Linked DNA regions of Homo sapiens: region 2 is linked to region 1. The links are contacts of gene promoters, found by promoter capture Hi-C in blood cells and fetal thymus (Javierre and others, 2016). All regions are on one chromosome and are shown on one strand. The core of a region is centred on a gene start or on the middle of the fragment in contact, and the rest is flanking DNA. Distances in the headings are between cores, read along the strand shown.

What was found. The method cuts DNA at HindIII sites, captures the fragments that hold promoters and counts their contacts. A CHiCAGO score of 5 or more calls a contact.
Region 2: a fragment that was not itself captured here is called in contact with the fragment with the promoter of MBLAC1 in region 1 in 3 of 17 cell types (total B cells, activated CD4 T cells and naive B cells); the score reaches 6.1 in total B cells.

The regions. Positions count from the first base shown.
Region 1 is chr7:100,124,950-100,130,257 of GRCh38, forward strand. MBLAC1 (metallo-beta-lactamase domain containing 1) reads left to right here and starts at 2,018. Exons shown (of 2, transcript NM_203397.3): 1 at 2,018-2,115; 2 at 2,419-3,546. The coding sequence starts at 2,447. The coding sequence ends at 3,247. It overlaps CNPY4 (canopy FGF signaling regulator 4), which reads left to right. Exons shown (of 6, transcript NM_152755.2): 6 at 1-559. It also overlaps a transcript of TAF6 not described here. RefSeq lists enhancers at 588-1,257, 1,968-2,037 and silencers at 2,238-2,357, 2,448-2,927. The HindIII fragment of the contact is 8,479 bases long and covers 207-5,308 here.
Region 2 is chr7:100,437,891-100,443,829 of GRCh38, forward strand. PPP1R35-AS1 (PPP1R35 antisense RNA 1) reads left to right here. Exons shown (of 3, transcript NR_187540.1): 2 at 491-612; 3 at 1,844-1,987. Among named protein-coding and RNA genes, the nearest start is that of PPP1R35-AS1, 4.2 kb to the left of the region's middle. The HindIII fragment of the contact is 6,057 bases long and covers 397-5,939 here.

The sequences.
Region 1 (5,308 bases), core at 768-3,267:
CTCCCTGCTCCACAGCTTTCAGGGTGTGTTTATGAGTGACTCCACCCAAGCTTGTAGCTGTTCTCTCCCATCTAACCTCAGGCAAGATCCTGGTGAAACAGCATGACATGGCTTCTGGGGTGGAGGGTGGGGGTGGAGGTCCTGCTCCTAGAGATGAACTCTATCCAGCCCCTTAATTGGCAGGTGTATGTGCTGACAGTACTGAAAGCTTTCCTCTTTAACTGATCCCACCCCCACCCAAAAGTCAGCAGTGGCACTGGAGCTGTGGGCTTTGGGGAAGTCACTTAGCTCCTTAAGGTCTGTTTTTAGACCCTTCCAAGGAAGAGGCCAGAACGGACATTCTCTGCGATCTATATACATTGCCTGTATCCAGGAGGCTACACACCAGCAAACCGTGAAGGAGAATGGGACACTGGGTCATGGCCTGGAGTTGCTGATAATTTAGGTGGGATAGATACTTGGTCTACTTAAGCTCAATGTAACCCAGAGCCCACCATATAGTTTTATAGGTGCTCAATTTTCTATATCGCTATTAAACTTTTTTCTTTTTTTCTAAAAACTAGCTGGGCCCAAAGTTTCAAACAACAGCCGGGCACACATAGCTAGCTGGTCGATGAGGCAGCACCCAGAATGGCCGCTGTCTTGTTAAGCTCAAGCTCCAGCCTGAGCAACATAGTGAAACCCCAATTCTACACACACACACACACACAAAGAAGACTGCAGGGCTGGTGGTGCAGCGCCTGTAGTCCCAGTTACTGCAGAGGTGGAGATGGGAGGATCACTTGAGTCCAAAAGGTCAAGACCAGCCTGGAGGCTGGGCGCAGTGACTCACACCTGTAATCCTAGCACTTTGGGAGGCCGAGGCAGGCGGATCACCTGAGTGTAGGAGTTCGAGAGCAGCCTGGCCAACATGGAGAAACCTCGTCTCTACCAAAAATACAAAAATTAGCCGGGCGGCTGGGCGCGGTGACTCACGCCTGTAATCCCAGCACTTTGGGAGGCCAAGGCGGGTGGATAACAAGATTAGGAGATCGAGACCATCCTGGCTAATACGGTGAAAGCCCGTCTCTACTAAAAATACAAAAAATTAGCCGGGTGTGGTGGCAGGCGCCTGCAGTCCCAGCTACTCGGGAGGCTGAGGCAGAAGAATGGCGGGAACCCGGGAGGCGGAGCTGGCAGTGAGCCAAGATCGTGCCACTGCACTCCAGCCTGGGTGATAGAGCGAGACTCCGTCTCAAAAAAAAAAGCCACGCATGGTGGTGGGCGCCTGTAATCCCAGTTACTCGGGAGGCTGAGACAGGAGAATCGCTTGAACCCAGGAGGCGGAGGTTGCAGTGAGCTGAGATCACGCCACTGCACTCTAGCCTGGGCGACAGAACAAGACTCCGTCTCAAAAAAAACCAAAAAAAATTTAGAGGGGCGTGCACGCCTGTATTCCCAGCACTCCAGGAGGCTGAAGCAGGAGGATCGCTAGAACCAGGGGTTCAAGACTGGGGCGAGCTATGATGGTGCCCCTGCACTCTAGCCTGGGCGACAGGGCGAGACTGTCTCAAAAGAAAAAAAGACCAGGCGCGGTGGCTCACACCTGTAATCCTAGCACTTCAGGAGACCAAGACTGGAGGATCGCTGGAGCCCAGGAGTTCCAGACCAGTCCTGGCAACAGAACTAGACCGTGTCTCCAAAAAAAAAGAGAAAGAAAAAATAGAAACCTTAGCTGGGCTTGGTGGTGCGCATCTGTGGTCCCAGATACTCGGGACGCTGAGGCGGGAGGATCACATGAGCCCAGGAGGTTGAGGCTGCAGTGAGGTATGATCGCGCCACTGCACTCCTGCCTGGGCAACTGAGCATGAACCCTCCTCAAAGCTAATGGCGCTTCAAAATTCTGCAGTGCAAAGAAGTTGCTGGGGTTGCGGAGCGGAGAACCGCCAGGAGGCTGGAGCCCAGCCAGGCAGCCTCCTCGGGCACACGGTGAAGGCGCCGGAACTACAGCTACCTCCGCGGCGCCGCTTCGGCCGCCATATCTGGGTACACGGGAACCGCAGAGGACAAACTCTCACCCGCGTTTTCGATTTCTGCGCTTTCTTCGAGTGAGGCAAGACCTAGCAGAGGCCCAAGGTAGAGCGCGGCTAGGATTCGATGGAGGGAAACATAAAGGATAGCCTTTGGAGGGTGACGGGCAAGGACGTACGTACCGCGAACGGAATGGGGCGGGGGCCGAGGACGCCGAGGGAGGGGCGGGCCCAAGTGTGAAGGGAGTCTGGGCGATACCATTTTGGGCAGGGGTTGAGGGTGATACCAACTTAATGGGAGGCGGGTGGCAGAGAACCGAGGCTTAGGGGCAGTGGCGGGGCCGAGCGCGGGTGGGGGATCGCGGAGGGACAGGACGGTCGCCCACTGCTCCATTTCCTTTCTCCCCAGCCCGTCCCTCCCTGCCAGGAGCAGCCTCATGCGGACCGAGCCGCTGTGCGGGGCATCCCCTCTGCTGGTGCCCGGCGACCCCTACTCTGTGGTGGTTCTGCTGCAGGGCTACGCGGAGCCAGAGGGTGTGGGCGATGCCGTGCGCGCCGACGGCTCCGTGACCCTGGTCCTACCCCAGACCCGGGGCCCGGCCTCCAGCCACCGAGAGTCCCCGCGCGGGAGTGGCGGCGCAGAGGCCGCCCTGGAGGAGGCGGCCCGTGGCCCCATCCTGGTGGACACCGGGGGCCCCTGGGCTCGGGAGGCGCTGCTGGGGGCGCTGGCGGGGCAGGGCGTGGCCCCGGGAGACGTGACGCTAGTGGTGGGGACCCACGGGCACTCGGATCACATCGGGAACTTGGGGCTGTTCCCAGGCGCGGCTCTGCTGGTCTCGCACGACTTCTGCCTTCCCGGAGGCCGCTACCTGCCCCACGGGCTGGGTGAGGGGCAGCCCCTGCGCCTGGGCCCGGGGCTCGAGGTGTGGGCCACGCCGGGCCACGGGGGCCAGCGCGACGTGAGCGTGGTGGTGGCCGGCACGGCTCTGGGCACCGTGGTGGTGGCGGGAGATGTGTTTGAGCGAGATGGGGACGAGGATTCGTGGCAGGCACTGAGTGAAGACCCCGCAGCCCAGGAGCGGAGCCGGAAGAGGGTCCTGGTCGTTGCCGACGTGGTCGTACCTGGTCACGGGCCCCCCTTTCGAGTGTTAAGGGAAGCCTCGCAGCCCGAGACGGAGGGTGGAGGGAACAGCCAGCAGGAGCCGGTGGTCGGAGACGAGGAGCCCGCCCTGCACTAATCAGCCTCGAGAGGGACTGCACTCTTGTCAGGGAAGCCCTAACAGCGAAGAGCTGCTGGAGACAGAGTCAGAGCAGTCAAGGGTGGGAGCTTCCAGCCCTTCCAGGAGGCCAGTTTTCTAGTGAAGACAGAGTGCACCTGACACTGCCATCACATCGTCAGTATCACTGCCTGTCTCTGCCACCAAACTAAGATCAAAGGAGGGGCTCAGCTCCCTGTGCATTCTCCCTGGGCCTCAGTAAAATGGGAGAAGGTTCGTGGGAGGGGCCTCCAAAATAAAAATGGAAACTGCATTGAAAATCATAGTGCCCTAGTGTAAATGTGAAGCATTGACAATGATAATCGTGCAAACATGGTAATCTACAACTACAGCAGAGGCATACTTTGGCCAATTGCCCCTTTCTTATAGGATGGAGGTTGCTGAGAGAAGGTACAGGGCATAAAGATGACCCCTTAGTCACCTGACTTATGTATTTGTTCATATTTTTTTGTCACACAGGCTAGAGTGCAGTTGTGCAGTCATAGCTCACTGCAGCCTCCAGCTTAAGCCATCCACCTGCCTCAGCCTCCCAAGTAGCTGGGATGACAGGCAAGTGCCACTATGCCCCACTAATTTTTTTTTTTTTTTGAAACACGGTTTCACTCTGTCCCCACAGGCTGCAATGCAATAGCACAATCTTGTACTGCAGACTGCACTGCAACCTCTGCCTCCTGGGTTCAATTGGTTCTTGTGCCTCAGCCTTCCCAGCAGCTGGGATTACAGGCTCACACTACCATGTCCAGCTAATTTTTATATTTTTAGTAGAGAAAGGGTCTTACCATGTTGGCCACACTGGTCTCAAACTCCTGGCCTCAAGTGATCTGCCCATCTCAGCCTCCCAAAGTGCTGAGGTTACAGGTATGAACCACCATGCCTGGCTATCAGCTAATTTTTTTTTTTCATTTTTTTTCAGAAATGGTCTCACTGTGTTGCCCAGGCTGGTCTTGAACTCCTGACCTAAAAAGATCCTACCTTCTCAGGCCCTCTGCATTTTTTTTTGCTGGGATTACAGGCATGAGCCACTGTGCCCTTCCCCAAGTGTGATGATTTAATATCTGTTTTCTTTCAGCAGCCGGATTGCTCCCATGGGCATGGGATGGGGCCACACCTGCCTGGCTCTCCTATGCTTGGGACCTCCAGCACCTTGGACAACCTCTGGCACAGAGTAGGGCGGGGTGAAACAGCAACAGATGCCTGAAGTGAGATCCTAAGAGCTCACAGAGCAGACCAGTTCTACTTGCTCTAAGCACTTTCTGTACATTATTATTATTATTATTATTGACTGAGTCTTGCTCTGTAACCCAGGCTGGAGTGTAGTGGTGCAATCAAAACTCACTGTGACCTGGAACTCCTGGGCTTAAGTGATCCTTCCACTTCAGCCTTCAGCCTCCCAAACTGCTGGGGTTACAGGCGTGAGCCACCGTGCCCAGCCCCATCCATTAACTTATTTGTTCCTCATCGCAGCTCTGAGCTAAGTACTATTATTATCTTTCTTTCTTTCTTTCCTTTCTCTCTCTCTCTCTGTCTCTTTCTTTCTTTCCACAGAGTCTCACTCTGTTGCCCAGGTTGGAGGAGTGCAGTGGCTCGATCTCGGTCAATGCAACCTCCGCCTCCTGGGTTCAAGCACTTCTCTGCCTCAGCCTTCCGAGTAGCTGGGATTACAGGTGCCTGCCACCGTGCCCAGCTACATTTTTTTTTTTTTTCTGAGACGGAGTTTCACTCTTGTTGCCCAGGCTGGAATACAGTGGCACAGTCTCAGCTCACTGCAACCTCCGCCTCCTGGGTTCAAGCGATTCTTGTGCCTCAGCCACCCGAGTAGCTGGGACTACAGGCGCACACCACCACATCTAGCTAAATTTTCTATTTTTAGTAGAGACAGGGTTTCACCATGTTGGCCAGGCTGGTCTCGAACTCCTGACCTCAGGCGATCCACCCACCTCAGCCTCCCAAAGTGCTGGGATTACAGGCGTGAGTCACTGCGCCTGGCTTTTTGTATTTTTTTTTTTAAGCGGAGATGGGGTT
Region 2 (5,939 bases), core at 2,175-4,674, 310 kb after region 1:
TTTTGTATTTTTAGTAGAGACAGGGTTTCACCGTGTTGGCCTCGAACTCCTGACCTCAAGTGGTTCAGCTGCCTTGGCCTCCCAAAGTGCTATGATTACAGGCAGTAGCCACTGCACCCAGCCTTGAATTCAGTTTTTTTAATTTTTAATGTCAGTGGACTTATCCTGGGCCCTGAGCTTTTCCACATAGCAGAAGACCCCTGAACTGCAGAAAAGGAAATGAGAGCTCCCACCTGCTCCTTAGGTTACTTGGGGCAGGTCCCCTCAATTCTGCAAGTCTCCTTTCATTTTTTGTGTAGAATGTAAGTGGAAGTGGGTTCAGGAATCCTTTCTTACTCTTTTTTTTTTTTTTTTTTTAATTCTCCAAACTGCTTCAAAAAGGTTCAGGAATCTTGAAGCTTTCCTGGAATTGATTGATGCTCAGTCAACAGGCACGTTTGTGTACCACTTTTCATTATGAGTTTCCACATTGTTCATTTTATCTTTCCAGGAAGTGCTGTGGAACATCAGATAGAATGGATAGCACAGCCCAAATTTTACAAAAAGGATTTTAAAGGAAGATCTCAATGGTGGAACACTAGAGGCTTTCCTGCTAAAGTTAAGAACAAGCAAGTATGTCTATTATCTCATTGTTCAATTGTGAAAAGAAATAGCGAGGTACAAATATAAATTTTTAAACTGGGAGTATAAATTAAAAATTTTTAATAGCGACATAGGAGGGAGAGAATAGAATGAAAGACAAACAGTCTTATTCCTCCAAATATACTTTGTTTTGTATATTTGACTTTGGAAATGTATGCATTTTATATGATTATATTAAAAGGTTTTAAAAAATCAGGCCAGGCACAGTGGCTTACACCTGTAATCCCAGCACTTTGGGAAGCCCGGGTGGGTGGATCACTTGAGGTCAGGAGTTCGAGACCAGCCTGGCCAGCATGGTGAAACCCCGTTTCTACTAAAAATATAAAAATTAGCCAGGCGTGGTGGTGCACACCTGTAATCCCAGCTACTTGGGAAGCTGAGGCACAAGAATCGCTTGAACCCAGGAGGCGTATGTTGCAGTGAGCTGAGATCGTGCAACTGGACTCCAGCCTGTGTAACAGAGCAAGACTCTGCCTCAAAAAGTAATAGTAAAATAAAATACAAATACAAAAAAATTAGCCGGGTGTGGTGACAGGTGCCTGTAGTCCCAACTACTTGGGAGACTGAGTAGGCCAGTCACTGGAACTCAGGAGGTGGAGGTTGCAGTGAGCCAAGATTGTGCCACTGCACTCCAGCCTGGGTGACAGAGCTAGACTCTCTGTCTCAAAAAACAAAAAACAAACAAACAAAAAAAACTAATAAATCATGCTGTATTTTACCTTAAATTGAAAAGTATCAAGACTGAGCACAGTGGCTCAAGCCTGTAATCCCAGCACTTTAGGAAGCCGAGGCAGGCAAGTTGCCTGAGCTCAGGAGTTCAAGACCAGCCTGGGCAACATGGCAAAACCTCGTCTCTACTAAAAAGTACAAAAAATTAGCCAGGCATGGTAGCACGTGCCTGTAGTCCCATAGTCCCAGCTACTCAGGAGGCTGAGGCATGAGAATCACTTGAACCCAGGAGGCGGCGGTTGCAGTGAGCCAGGATCTCGCCACTGCACTCCAGCCTGGATGACAGAGTGAGACCCTGTCACAAGAAAAAAAAAAGTTGGGGTTCGGAACAGTATTTGAGGGTACATGGATAAAACAAGATTAGCCAAATGTTGATGACTGCTGAAGCAGGATTTTATTACTATATTTTCTCTACTTTTGCATATTCTTGAACATTTCTGTGACTAAACGTTTTTTGTTTATTTAAAAAAAGAGGCTGACGCAGTTTTGGCATGCAGGAAGTGTTGGAGCTGAGACTCGAAACTGTCCCCCAGGCCTTGGCCATGCTGATAAATATCTAGGCCCTACAGGAGTTCGTGTCCATGAACCCAGTAAACGCAATTCCTCAGCCTTAAAATCTAGTCACTGACTCATTTCAGGCCCCAGCACAGACGAAAACAAGCCATTCTGTTTGCCCAGTTTACATTGCGGGTCTCCAAGAAGTGGAATGTTCACCAATGATTTTAAGAAAACAGGGCCTGGCGCGGTGGCTCACGCCTGTAATCCCAGCACTTTGGGAGGCCGAGGCAGGCAGATCACCTGAGGTTGGGAGTTTGAGATCAGCCTGACCAACATGGAGAAACCCCATTTCTACTAAAAATACAAAATTAGCCGGGTGTGGTGGTGCATGCTTGTAATCCCAGCTACTCAGGAGGCTGAGGCAGAATTGCCTGAAGCTGGGAGGCGGAGGTTGCAGTGAGCCAGAGATCGTGCCATTACATTCCAGCCTGGGCAACAAGAGCAAAACTCTGTCTCAAAATAATAATAATAATAATAATAATTAAAAAAAAAAAAACAGTACGAGTGTGAAGATCGGAAGGTGGAGGTGAGGGAGGTGAGAGGTCTTGGGCCTGCCCACATTCTTCCTAAGCTATTTTGGCTGGCCCAGGCTGGGAGGCCAGGAATTGCTTTTCCTCTTCAAAAGAAAAGGGGACAAAAAATTAGCTGGGCGTGGTAGCACTCATCTGTAGTCCCAGCTACTCAGGAGGCTGAGGCAGAAGAATTGCTTGAACCGGGGAGGCAGAGGTTGCAGTAAGCTGAGATTGTGCTGCTGCCCTCCAGCCTGGGTGACAGAGCGAGACTCGGTCTCAAAAAAAAAAAAAAAAAAAATGGGGAGGAGGACAGGGCATGGTGGTTCATGCCTATAATTCCAGCATTTTGGGAGGCCAAGGCAGGCAGATCACTTGAGGCCAGGAGTTCGAGACCAACCTGGGCAACACAGTGAAACCCTTTCTCTACTAAAACTACAAAAAATTACCTGGGCATGGCAGCACATGCCTGTAATTTCAGCTACTCGGGAGGCTGAGGCATGAGAATCACTTGAACCTGAGAGGGGGAGGTTGCAGTGAGCCAAGATGGCACCACTGCACTCCAGCCTGGGCAACAGCGTGAGACTCTGTCTCAAAAAAAAAAAAAAAAAAAAAAAATGGCTGGGACACCGTGACTCATGCCTGTAATTCCAGCACTTTGGGAGGCAGAGGCAGGAGGATCCCTGTGAGGCCAGGAGTTCAAGACCAGCCTGGGCAACATAGTGAGACCCAGTCTCTATAAAAAAATTAAAAATTAGCCAGGCGTGGTGGTGTATTCCTGTAGTCCCAGGTACCGGGGAGGTTGAGGTGGGAGGATCCCTTGAGCCCAGGACTTCGAGGCTGCAGTGAGCTATGATCACGCCACTGCACTCCAGCCTTGGCGACAGAGCAACACCCATCTCTTAAATATTATTTATTATAAGGCTTTTGGGCTGGGTGCTGTGGCTCACGCCTGTAATCCCAGCACTTTGGGAGGCCGAGGCGGGCGGATCACGAGGTCAGGAGATTAACACCATCCTGGCTAACACGGTGAAACCCTGTCTCTACTAAAAATACAAAAAATTAGCCGGGTGTGGTGGCATGCGCCTCTAGTCCCAGCTACTCAGTAGGCTGAGGCAGGAGTATGGCGTGAACCTGGGAGTCGGAGCTTGCAGTGAGCCGAGATCGCACCACTGCACTCCAGCCTGGGCAACAGAGCGAGACTCCGTCTCAAAAAAAAAAAAAAAAAGACTTTTGATTGGGTTAGACCTCACCAGTTAGAGATGCTCCTTTAGTTATCTGAGGCTGCTGAGTGGGGTAATCCTAGACCTGGATGCTAGTTTGAAGAAAGCAAGTCTCAGTGCTGGAAGGGGTCATTCAAGGTCATCCATGAGCTTCTGCTGAGCCAGGTGCTATAGGTGGGCTAGGTGGGACAGGAGACAGGTCAGCATCCAGGGTCCTTGAAGGGACCATGTCCTTAAGAAGAGGTAGGATGCCTCCAATGCAGTGGTCCACTGCACGGTGTGGCTGAGACTGCTACAGAGGACACATGGGAAGACCTGCCAGGGTTGGGGGTGGGGGAGGAGCAAGGGCGTCATCCTGGAAGTCACCCCCAAATAGGGCCAAGAAAGATCAGAGAGACAGCAAAGCTCTAATACCACCCTCTGCAAACCCCACCTATGGCGACCTCTCACCTCCTGTCTCCTATTCTCAAACTGGCCTATGCCTAAGGGCCAACCCAGAGACACTTCCACACTGGTCCCTGTCACACGAGACACGCTGGAAGATGGGAATGGCCAACCTCCAGACACACACACATCCAGGCTCCTATCCCCAGAGTGCGTGTTCTCATCCTACTGCATCTCGGAGGCTGGCAGGGTGAATCCCCCAGCAGGTCAGGTAGGTCTGAGGTGTCTCAGCCTGAACTCATGACTCCAAACCACCTTCACGCCTTCGTCCCAACCCAGAAGGAAGAGATCCAGGGAGGAGGGCACACATCGGGCTGCAGGCCAACACACTGACCCTGAGCCTGGCCTCCCCAGCATCAGGCTGAGGAACAGGAGGGTTGAGATGAGCCCCATTAGGTATGTGTGAAGTCTCTGGGACATGGGATGATGCCAGCTGCTGGGATGCAGAAAAGTTGGAGGCAGGGGACAGAGTCTCATTCAAAAGAATTTGTCCATAATCCAAGCTGGGTGTTGTGGCTCACGCCTATAATCCCAGCACTTTGGGAGGCCCAAGCAGATGGATCACTTGAGGTCAGGAGTTCAAGACCAGCCTGGCCAACATGCTGAAACCCCGTCTCTACTAAAAATATAAAAATTACCCGTATGTGGTAGCCCAGGCCTGTAATCCCAGTTACTTGGGAGGCTGAGGTGGGAGGATTGCTTGAACCCAGGAGGTGGAGGTTGCAGTGAGCCCAGATCATGCCACTGCACACCAGCCTGGGCAACAAAGCGAGCAAAGCGAGACTCCATTTCAAAAAAAAAAAAAAAAAATTTTAGCTGCGTGTGCTGGCACATGCCTGCAAATCCCAGCTACTCCGGAGGCTGAGGCATGAGAATCACTTGAACCTGGGAGGCAGAGGTTACAGTGAGCCGCCAGCAACTGTATCTCAAATAAATAAATAAATAAATAAGAATTTGTCTGGAATCTGGGTGAGGCAGAGGAAAATGAAAGAAACCAGAAAAGCAAAGATAAACAGATTTGCAGGGTGGGGTGGAGGATGGAGAATTCAATGGAGCTGAGCACAGCAAGGAGGAGAATGTTGGGCTGAAGGCCTGAGCTTGCTGGGGAGATGTCCTTGATGTCCACACTGGGCATAGAAGGTTGATTGATGCCAGTGGTTAGGGTCCCAAAGAGCCCAGGGACAGCTGGAGGTAGAAAGAAAGGGTGTGGAGGCACGGAAGATGGGCCCATAACCCAGGAAAAGGGAGCCACAGATAGGGGAAATGTATGCAGAAATCGCCACCCTCACTCTGGGAGGCAGGTCCCGACAGATCCCCTTAGCAGGGGACCAATGCCCAGGACCTTGGGGAGATGGTTGGGGACGGGGGAAGCAGCAGATGGTCTGTTACTCAATGAGCACACAGGAGATGTTGGGGGGTCTTGGGGTGGAGAGTGATTCCATGGAAGCCTCTGGATTGGACAAGGAGATGTTGGTGTGAGGTTTTTCCACAGTCCAAGAGAGGCGATTGGACAAGGAGATGTTGGTGTGAGGTTTTTCCACAGTCCAAGAGAGGCTGGTAGAAGAAAAGCAGGTTCTGCTATCAGGCCGGGTGCAGTGGCTCACACCTGTAATCTCAGCCCTTTGGGAGGCCCAGGTGGGAGCATCACATGAGGACAGGCATTCGAGAGCAGCCTGGGCAAGATGGTGAAACCCTGTCTCTACAATAAAAACACAAAAAAATTAGCCGGGTGTGGTGGTGTGCACCTGTAGTCCCAGCTACTCAGGAGGCTGAGACCGGAGGATCACTTGAGCCCAGGAGTTCAAGACCAGCCTGGGCTGGTCAAGACCCCATT